Linked DNA regions of Homo sapiens: all the other regions are linked to region 3. Evidence: promoter capture Hi-C in 16 types of primary human blood cells and fetal thymus (Javierre and others, 2016). All regions are on one chromosome and are shown on one strand. Each heading gives the region's core, a stretch centred on a gene start or on the middle of the fragment in contact. The rest is flanking DNA. Distances are from core to core; before and after follow the strand shown. Region 1 overlaps LOC101928004 (a long non-coding RNA gene). Region 2 holds the start of EEF1E1 (eukaryotic translation elongation factor 1 epsilon 1). Region 3 holds the start of SNRNP48 (small nuclear ribonucleoprotein U11/U12 subunit 48).

Region 1 (3,567 bases), core at 130-2,629, 810 kb after region 3:
TGAGCCCAATCTCTCTCCCTTATTGCACTGTCCCTATTGCAATAGTCCTTTAAAAAAACAATTTTTTTTTTGGCAGAGAGAGGGTCTCCCTATGTTGCCCAGGCTAGTCTCAGACTCCTGGCCTACTAGGTGATCCTCCTGCCTCGGCCCTCCAAAGTGCTGGGATTATAGGTGTGAGCCACCACATCCTGCAGTAATCTTGGATAAAGTCTTCCCTACCCTTATAACAAGTGTCAAAATAATATTATCACTGGCATTTGGGAAACAGTGCAGAAGCAGTGCAAGCAGGGACTGCGTGAGAATGGGAAAGCTAGCCTTTGCCTCAAGAACACTCTGCTTGACTTCATTAGACAGCTGCACAGGAGGTAATTTTCTAGGGCATGGTTTTTCAAACTGTGAGCTGCAACTATTTACTAAGTCACATCAACATTTTAAAATGAAATAGAATAGAGTTAGAAAATACCATCCTGTATTGCCTGTAATTAAGGGAAGTATTGACTCATAAAACTTTTGTTTCAGCTTATGTGTCTGTGCACCCGGTCAAGGTGTAAAGATGTATATATATATATATATATACTTTTTACCATGTAAACTGGTAAAATAAAATAAAATGATAAAATAAAATTATAGAAGCCACTGATCTAGGAAGTAGTTTTGGACCTTTTGCTTTCCCCCCCGCCCCCACCCCCAAGAATAGCTATACCAGTCAGGCTGATACTATTATCTCTATTTTAGAGGGGATGGATTTGGTTAGGTAAAATCTCACCACTGAGTGCTAACATGTCAATTTCTTAGTCTCTATTTTACCATAACCGTGTTAGCTTTTCCTTTGTTTAAAGCATTTTCTTAACTTTATCTTGCTTAAGAAAGCCAGGACATGTAAGATTCAAGCTTCATTTCCAAAGTGAATGAACAGATAAATGCTTGTCAGTATTAGACTAACAAAGAGATCAAAAGCAATAGGCAAAACAATCCACACATGCCTAGATGGGGTAAAATGAAGACTTTGTGAATCATTTCCTTTTTAAGTTATTAGTTCTTGGGAACCTAAGGAAGGAGTATGGGATTCTTACCTCATGGTGGGTGGTAGGAATTGTGTGAAGCATTAGTGGCAAGATTGCATGCTTAGACTCACAGTATAAGTAAAACTCATTCTATAGACAATTCTACAAAAGAATGAGAAGAATGCCATAGACCGTGGAAGGCTCATGCGATGAGCATGTCAGCCCACTTCTGCTCTGCCTTTCCTTTAAACTGGTCCACACCCCAGACCCTTCACCATTTTGGTTTTTGTAGGAAGAGAACTCAACCACCAAATACCCTGTAGGCTTGGGAGGGCATACACATGAGAAGCAGGTTCCCCTAGGCTCAGGTGAGCCCCACCTTCAAGGTGGAAAACCTTGGGGACCTTCTGGAAATGCAGAGGCAGATAGGGCTTCATGCTTGGTGAAGAGATGAGCATTCACAACTAGCTTGGTTCTCTACCAATGGTCAAAATGGTTGATTTTGCTACTGAATGAGAGACATCAATTTTCTTGAGATTCAACTATCTTTTGTGCCACTTCTGTGTAATGCCAACTAGTCATTTGGTGAGTTTATTTAGATAAAGAATCAGATTTTGAAGCAAACTTGTTTCCTCTGTGACCAAAAAAAGGGCATTTTAAGCCTGCAAATAAAACTTAAAATGCTTTATTTCTATAAATAAATAAATAAACTGAGCAAATAAAAAAATACAACACATGGAACATAAAAACTCCAGTAACAATTGGACCAGGTCACCCTTAGTGTAAATGTCAACATTCTTTTTCAAATTGTTATTTAATTATTTGTTATTCTATATTTTATTTATTTGACAGCCAAAGCTTCCCTCCCAGAGGAGGATGTTCCTTTGCCTTTGTCCAGAGCCCTTCAGGAGAAGCAGAGGAATTGCTCAGAGATGAGCTGGGATTGCTTGGGGGGCACAAGGAGATAGCGATGCCCATCATCATTGTAATAGTTAGGATTGGCTCTCAGGCATGGTGCCGAACACTTTACCTGGATTCTTTAATTTAATTCACCCGACATGAGATAGGTGTACTGACTGTCCCCATTTTGCCAATGAAAAAACTGAGGTAGAGTGAGGTTAAACCACTTGCCTAGTTCAGTGTCAGGACTGACTCTCGGCAGCCTGACCCCAGGGCCTTGACACTGACCAAGGTTGCAGTGTTGTCTGCTCCTGGAAGTTCTCACTGACCAGTTTGCAAAGTGGGATTGCTTTTTCTTTTTCTCCTTCCTTCCTTCCTTCCTTTCTTTCTTTTTTTGAGATGGAGTTTCGCTCTTGTTGCCCAGGCTGGAGTGCAATGTCGTGATCTCAGCTCACTGCAACCTCTGCCTCCCAGGTTCAAGTGATTCTCCTGCCTCACCCTCCCTAGTAGCCGGGATTACAGGCATGTGCCACCATGCCTGGCTAATTTTGTACTTTTAGTAGAGACAGGGTTTCTCCATGTTGGTCAGGCTGATCTTGAACTCCCAACCTGGCTAATTTTTGTACTTTTGTAGAGACAGGGTTTCACCATGTTGGCCAGGCTGGTCTTGAACTCCGGACCTCAAGATGCAAGAGATGACACAGGTTTGGTGTTTTGTTTGTTTAATGACAAAAGAGAAGAGCAAAAGAGAATATGGTTGAAAGGACAGGAATAGAACTTTCAAACAGAATTTTCGATCCCTAACACAAAGAATGGTATTCCAAATCTGAACACTCTAAAAGAGAGAATAATGCCATTCCCCTTCGTTATTAGAAATAATATTATTATGTCTATTAGGAAAAAAAATCACACAATTTTAATGTGCATCAGAAGCATCAGGCTGATTTTTTCCCCTCTGGATTTTATTTTTAAAGTCAGAATTGGTTTCCTGCCCTTCAAGTGCTCCACTGCTGATACCAATAGTGAGATTGTGTAATTGGCAATAAATTTCCTACATGAAGAGCTTCTGGCCAGCTCCTTTTGAAAGCTTAGAATGTTTTGCTTAGTTGGGCTTTTCTGTCCCTGCAAAGTTAGTCTCCTGCAAATTTGTGTCCACTTCTGCAGGAGGGAATTGGAAGGCTGAGGAGAAATTTGTTGGTGATGAAGTAGCACAAGACAAGGCACAAAAGATGGGGTGGGGGAGTCCAGGAGGCTGGGAGGCAGGCATAGGGTAAAATTGTTGAAAAGAGACACTATAGTTCTTTATTTAAAAAAATAAAAATAAAAAAGCATCTGAAGAATTTGCCAATTCAGCATTTATCTAGCATTTGCTTCTCTGGGGCAGTGATTCCAAATTCCCAGCCTGTCAGGAGCTGGAGCACCCTTTGCAACTGTTTGCTTGATCATAGGATTCTCTTTTCTCCCTCTTCTTAGAAATAATGCATCCATTAAAATAAAACTAAAGTGAATTTAAGATTTCATTGTTTTGAAATACATATTTTAAAAATACAAGGTTTGAAAAACACTCCCCCTGAAATAACTCTAGTCCTTTCTAGGGAGTCGTGAAACTGTAGCTTGTGGAGAGTAGCCTTCCTTCAGGCTTTCATAAAGACCTGGTGACTCA
Region 2 (3,326 bases), core at 405-2,904, 510 kb before region 3:
TTTAACCTCATCTACCTTACAACTCCTCTTTTGGGCAACACCAAACACCCAACTTTCCAGCAACACCACATGATTGCATCTTTGCTTTATTCCACAGTACATATACAGCACCATACCAATGCTGACACTGCCAAGATGCTAACCAAACCAACAAACAAAAAGAACCAAAAACAGGTTTTCATGAATTTTGTCCTTAAAGCATATCTTACTAAGAGTATACAATTAAATGACTGTGCTATAAAGTCACTTAAAAGAGGTCCACACTGGGTGATGATGTCATCAATTTGATGTACAATATGCTTTGTTCTGCTTTCAGTTTTTTAGGGATTTCTTTTTTAATTTGATATTTCTATAATTATGCAAAGGCCAAACCTTATTTTCAATATACCACCCATTGGCATTGGATAAATGTTAATTTTTTTAAAAAATGTTTTATTACAAGCAAAAAGTGTACCTAAACCCTGAAAATGGATATGTGAATTATCTTAGAGGGTTGGTCTTTTAAAAAGTAGTAGAATAGTCATTCCATTATCTGAATATGGAAAGTAAAACAGATAATTTAGTGCCTAACAATCCACTTATACTGAAATTTCTTTTGTATTTTGTTATGTTGATTTGGCAAAAGTTTCTTTTCCTTATGTTTACTTCTGCTGACAGAGTAAACTCATTAAGTATTCTGGGATAGGGAAGGTGTAACACAGTAACAACATTCCCCACTAAACTTTGATATTTCTGATTCAATGATGAGTTACCTTGTAGGATTGTTCTATTTCTCTCAGACTAATACACACTTTGTTTATTCATTCTTCAAAGTGGAAAATATTTTGTATTTTCACAAATCTTTTGGAAATATTCAACATATACTACTAATTTTCTTTCTTTCTTCCTTTCTTTCTTTTTTGAAGATACAAGAATGTAGCAAGTTAGTGGGGCAAAGTTATGCACCTTGTTTATTTATATACCAAAACTTCATAAATTATGTAACCAGCCTTCTGGTACTGCAAAAAAAGATCATTAATGCCATTAATGGCTTATTTCCTTGAGCTGTAATTATTTGACCCCTATCTGACATACTCCGTGTTCTGTGAATAATCTTTAAATGTATAATTCTACTGCTAGTGTTGAGCTGTAGATCAACAGTAGAAAAACCAGTTTTTCGAATTCACCACTACAACACAATTAAAATCCTCATGAATTATGCTACACGTTAGAAACTCCTAATGGACTGTGAACTTTTTGCTATTCAATTTGATTGTTCAAATTTACAGATTCCTGAACCAAACTAAGGCAAATTTCAGTTCCCATCATATATAAATTCTCTTAGACTAGCAAATGAGTTAACGAGTTACCGCTGGCAGCCATGTCAATAGATTGCCATTTAGAGATCCAGATCCAGTCTACTGCAGCCACCGAAGCCCGGCCTTGGGGCCTTTCTACCAGTAACTAGCTCCCCAACAGTTCGAGTGGAAATTTACCATCACTTCTCCACCTGTCTCACACCCCGCCCTCAGCCCCGCCCCTTCCACCGGCCCCGCCTCCTGTGCTTTGGCGCGCGCTCTCCACGCCCCTTCCGTTCAGCCAATCGCCGCTGAAGTTTGCAGGAGTGGGACTTCTGTTTCCACCAATGCGGGAGGTTCTTGTTCTGCAGGTCTCGCGTCTGCCAGGAGCTACGGCCGGAAGATGGCGGCGGCCGCAGAGTTGTCGCTACTGGAGAAGTCCCTGGGACTGAGTAAGGGGAATAAATACAGTGCTCAGGGCGAGCGACAGGTGAGAAGGAGAGGCGGCGCGGAGGGGAAGAGGTGGACGGGAGCGGGGCCTGCCGAGCCCTGGCAGGACCCGGGCCGGCCACCAGATACGGGCGGAGTGAGGATGCTGCTACCCAGCTCCCCACGTGTCTGCGCCGCTAGCCGGCTGGCGCCTCTGGGCCTCGGCCCCTGCCATCCTACCTCCTGGAGGGAGGGGTTAACCAGCTCAGGTTGGGCTTGGCCTGAACTTCACCTCCTGGGAAATTGTCATCATCCCATTATGAGGAAACAAAACCAGTTGGAGGAGGGTCCTCACAGGGCTCTTAGACCAACCTGGAATGTATTCAGTAACTGGCTTTTTTTTTTTTCCCGTAATCGCACCTTTCATTCAGTTATTGCGCAGCGACTCCGTTATAGCTAACAGGGTGCCAGGTAGCACCGTGCTGGGTCTGGGGAATACAATGATGATTTAGGGGAACATGCTTCCTCCTCTCAGGCAGCTTGCTTTTTGGCCAGGTGGACAAACATTGCAACCATTTAAATTGGAAGAGTGCCACGTTGCACCATAAATGGCAGAGAGAACACCTAAGGAGTCTTGGCCCAATCTAGGGGATTCGGGGAAGGCGTTTCTAAAGCCTTGGATTATCAGTTTAAGTGTTACGACCCACAGTGAATGCGGGAAACATCACAAGGTATGAGATTGCCTGGTTAGGCACTGTTAGAACGTTTGTGTTTTATAGTTGTTTGTCGTAGAAGGAATGTATTAGAGAAGGAAATTGGTTGTAGGAAGACTACTTTGGATATATGTTTTTTTTGCTCCTTTGAGATTTTTTCCAAATGATGTTTGGTTTTTGTCTTTAATTTTTTCTCTTCTTCATTTGGTCCATGTGAAGATCTTGTCTAGAAAGTAGTAGTATAGTTTTTATTTAAGTTAACCTGAAGCCTAGAAAGGTTAAGTGTTCAGCCTAAGATCAGCCCTGTGATTGGTGGCAGAGTAGGCGTTGGAGCCAAAGTGGCCTTCTTTTGGTGTTTCCTCTGCCCCAGTGATAATTCCGTCCCTTCGGCCCCTACTCCCTAGCTTAGTGTATATATTATATAATATATATGTAGTATAAATATAATATATATGGCCGAGTGGACAAACATTGCAACCGTTTAAATTGGAAGAGTGCCATATATATATATATATATATATATATATATATATATATATTTTTTTTTTTTTTTTTTTGAGACAAAGTCTCACTGTGTCGCCCAGGCTGTAGTGCCATGGCATGATCTCGGATCACTGCAACCTCTGCCTCCCGGGTTCAAGCGATTCTTCTGCTTCAGCCTCCCAAGTAGCTGGGGTTACAGGTGTTCGCCACCACGCTCAGCTAATTTTTGTATTTTTAGTAGAGACCGGGTTGCACCATGTTGGCCAGGCTGGTCTTGAACTGGTGACCTCAGGTGATCCACATGCCCTGGCCTCCTAAAGTGCTGGGATTACAGGCGTGAACCACTGTGCCTGGCCTAGTTTATATTTTTTAGGGACCATTGCCAAGATATGAGTATTATCTAGTATGAGAAACAATCATCAGC
Region 3 (3,384 bases), core at 273-2,772:
ATTAAATGAAGTAATGTAAGTGGCAAACAAAGTGCTATTTAAACGTTAATACAAGGAATCCAATGTTACCGCAATGCTGAGTAAACAATGTATGGAAGGGTCTGGTAAGCCCCACTCAGTGGAATTCCCAGCTTCAAATACCCCTCTAAATGAATATTAAAGATTTTTTAATTTCCTCTGTGCTTTTAATACAATAAACAATGAATGGTATATACAGAAATCAAATATATTTTAAATGCCTCTGAGGAATCAGTCATGTAACTTAAACCCAGGAGAAATTATCACAGCATGGTAAACCCAGAAGTAATAGTAAAGATAATGAATTACCCCACATTGGAGCACTTCCCTTCCTCTCATTCCACCGAAAATACCCCACAAAAAAACAAAAATCACGAATGTTCACTCTAAATACACTTGCCTACATTTTTAAAAAAGCAATTCTAATGTCCACAGGAGTTGCCAGTTACCACCTCTTGGTGACAACCTTTAATAATCCTAGAATTGGTGCTGTCCCAGTCAGAAGTGTCCAATTTTAAGGCACAGAAAGGCGAACTGGCAAACTCCCAGCTCTCCTGACACCGAATCTGGTGCAACTGCGGAATCCGTATGACAGATGACAATGCAAACCGCCAATCCCTCTGCAGCGCTCTGAGACACGTTCACTTATTTTCTAAATAAATACCAAATCTGCCATTCCCTCCTCACTCAACACACCTTCCTGGATTTTGTTTGTTTGTTTTTTGAGACAGGGTCTTGCTCTGTCGCCCAGGCTGGAATGCAGTGGAGCGATCTCGGCTCACTGCAGCCTCGACCTCCTGGGCTCAAGCTATCCTTCCACCCCAGCCTCCCAAATAGCTGGGGCCACAGGCTCACACCACCACACCCGGCTAATTTTTGTACTTTTGGTAGAGAAGAGGTTTCACCATGTTGCCCAGGCTAGTCTGGAACTCCTGGGCTCAAGGGATCCTCCCGCCTTGGCCTCTCAAAGTGCTAGGATTACAGGCGTGCGCCACCGCGCCCGGCCCCCGGTTTTCTTTAAACTCGAAGTTGCGCGGGAGGAGCGCCGCACTGGAGGTCGATGTGGAGCCTTCGGGAGTTCCTCGCGCGCCCCAGCCCGGAACCCAGGGACGTCAGGGTTGCTCCAGGGCCCCCGGCGCCCCTCGGGTCCCAGGCGCCCATCGCGGCTCTGCACACGGACGAGGACTCCTCGCCCTTCCCTCCGCGGCTGCCAGTGCGGATCTCCCTTCTTCCAGAGAAGACCCCGGGCCGATAGTCCCCGAAAGGGCCCCGCGGCCGCGCTCCTCACCTCCGCCGCCTCCTCTTCCCCGGGATCCAGACTATCTAGGTCCCAGCCCAGGGACGCGGTCACCTCCTCCAACGTCCGGCAGCCGCTCTCCACGAACTCGTTCAGCTCCTCCTGCAGCCGCCGCCGCTCCTCCACAGGTGGAGGCTCGCCCTCCATAGCTGCAGCCCACCCGCCAAGAGGAAGCGGCCGAACTGCAGACCGCACGCGCAGGCCTCTGGGAGCTGTGGGCGGGGCCACAGTCGCCACGTGACTTGAACAGCCTATAGGGAAGAGTCCCGGGAAGGGCGGGACTGTTATTTTGAGAGGCGTTTTCCAATCTTTTCTCAGCTCTTGCGTGCATTTGCTCTGGCCTTTCCAGAAAGATATTCGCCCTCCTCGACTTCCTCAGAAAAAACGGCTTATAGCTACAGAAAAGTTTTAAAAATAGTACAATGAGCTTTCGTTTAGCCGTCCTTCAGCTCATTGTTAACATTTTGCCAGGTTTGATTTCTCTCCGTCTCTTCTCTCCACATTCACAGCCCCACCCAATGATTTTTGCTGAATTCTTTGAAAGTAAGTTGCAGATTTTTCACCCCCAAATATGTTAGCATGCATGTTCTAAGAATAAGAACATTTTCCTGTGTAACCGCAATACATGATCAAACCTAAGAAAATTAGTAAGTCCATAAAATCATTTATTATACAGTTCATATTCAAATTTCCCCATTGTCCCCAAAATTATTTCTATAGCAGTTTTATTTTTTCAACTCATAAGCTATAATTAGTTATTGTCTCTTTTAATCCAGATCAGCCTCCTTCACCCTCCTTTTTAAATTATTAAATCATTACATGTTGTGATGAGCCTAGGCCAGTTGTCTTGTAGAATCTCTCTCATTCTGGATTTGTCAGATTTTGTTTCCCTCATGATTAGATTCAGTTTGAGCACTTTTGCAATACTACCTAAGAGATGTTGCCAACTCACGGGGACGCATAACTCAGTTATATTAGTAATGCTAAATTTGATCACTTGGTAAAGGTGGTGGCTACATCTCTTCATTCTAATAGTACATTTTCCTCTTAGGAATTGGTAAGCAATCTGTGGATTATACCTTGAGTCCATAAGAATAACCTGTTCCCCAACTCCTTGATACAGTCCTTCACTGAATCTGTTGTTACATTAGGAGTTATAAGTGATTCCGCAATAGTATCATGCCTTTTATGTTTATTAACTGGCATTCTTTCCACACCTCCATTTTAGTGTTTGCTTCACTATGGGAATCAAGGTGTTTTTAAAGTTATTGATTTAAGGTTTTTTTTTAATTCAATATAATATACTCCTTTAACATCATAATTCTTGTTGATGCTCAAATTGTCCCAAATGTGGCCAGTGGAAGCCACATTAAGCCATCTGTGTCTTTCATGTATCCCTATTAGTCCTTGAATGCTTTCTTGCTTTGATAACACAAGCTTAACTTTGTACATTTCCTACCCAACACCTGGAATTAGCCCTTGTAGTTTCCCCAAATGGTTTCAACTCCTAGAATCTAACCCATTTTATATTACTTTTTAAAATTTTTTCAAGCCCAAGTGTCAAACCTTGGTTTCCTTTTGCACTTTGTTTACCCATGTGAAGGAACTGTGGGGGAATTTTTTGGTGAACAATTATTTCTAAAGGCAAATAGCACGGTTCTCACTTAAAAAAATAGTCATAAGACTATAAATAGGCAGCACCATAAAATACAGAAGTGGCTAGAAGCTGGTAAGAGAGGAGTATGAAGTTAATGTATTCATACTCTGCCTACAGTATCTTTTTTTTTTTTTTTTTGAGACGGAGTCTGGCTCTGCCACCCAGGCTGGAGTGCAGTGGCGCAATCTCAGCTCACTGCAACCTCCATCTCCCGGGTTCAAGCAATTCTTCTGCCACAGCCTCCCGAGTAGCTGGGACTACAGGCACATGCCACCACACCCTGCTAATTTTTCTATTTTTAATAGAGATGGGGTTTCACCATATTGGCCAGGCTGGTCTCGAACTCCTGACCTTGTGATCTGCTCGCCTCAGCCTCCCAAAGTGCTGGGATTACAGACGTGAGCCACCGCGC

The links. The method cuts DNA at HindIII sites, captures the fragments that hold promoters and counts their contacts. A CHiCAGO score of 5 or more calls a contact.
Region 1: a contact is called between a fragment that was not itself captured here and the fragment with the promoter of SNRNP48 in region 3, in 1 of 17 cell types (total B cells). The highest score is 5.3, in total B cells.
Region 2: a contact is called between the fragment with the promoter of EEF1E1 here and the fragment with the promoter of SNRNP48 in region 3, in 5 of 17 cell types (neutrophils, total CD4 T cells, activated CD4 T cells and 2 more). The highest score is 6.5, in neutrophils.

Annotation. Positions count from the first base shown.
Region 1 is chr6:6,781,431-6,784,997 of GRCh38, reverse strand. All of the region lies in intron 2 of LOC101928004 (a long non-coding RNA gene), which reads left to right. Among named protein-coding and RNA genes, the nearest start is that of LINC03055, 100 kb to the left of the region's middle. The HindIII fragment of the contact is 971 bases long and covers 894-1,864 here.
Region 2 is chr6:8,100,876-8,104,201 of GRCh38, reverse strand. It overlaps EEF1E1 (eukaryotic translation elongation factor 1 epsilon 1), which reads left to right and starts at 1,654. Exons shown (of 4, transcript NM_004280.5): 1 at 1,654-1,767. The coding sequence starts at 1,681. It overlaps EEF1E1-BLOC1S5 (EEF1E1-BLOC1S5 readthrough (NMD candidate)), which reads left to right and starts at 1,607. Exons shown (of 7, transcript NR_037618.1): 1 at 1,607-1,767. RefSeq lists silencers at 1,402-1,601, 1,742-1,861, 2,070-2,255. The HindIII fragment of the contact is 8,997 bases long and covers 1-3,326 here.
Region 3 is chr6:7,588,336-7,591,719 of GRCh38, reverse strand. It overlaps SNRNP48 (small nuclear ribonucleoprotein U11/U12 subunit 48), which reads right to left and starts at 1,522. Exons shown (of 9, transcript NM_152551.4): 1 at 1,307-1,522. The coding sequence starts at 1,462. RefSeq lists enhancers at 1,298-1,447, 1,026-1,765. The HindIII fragment of the contact is 5,411 bases long and covers 1-2,754 here.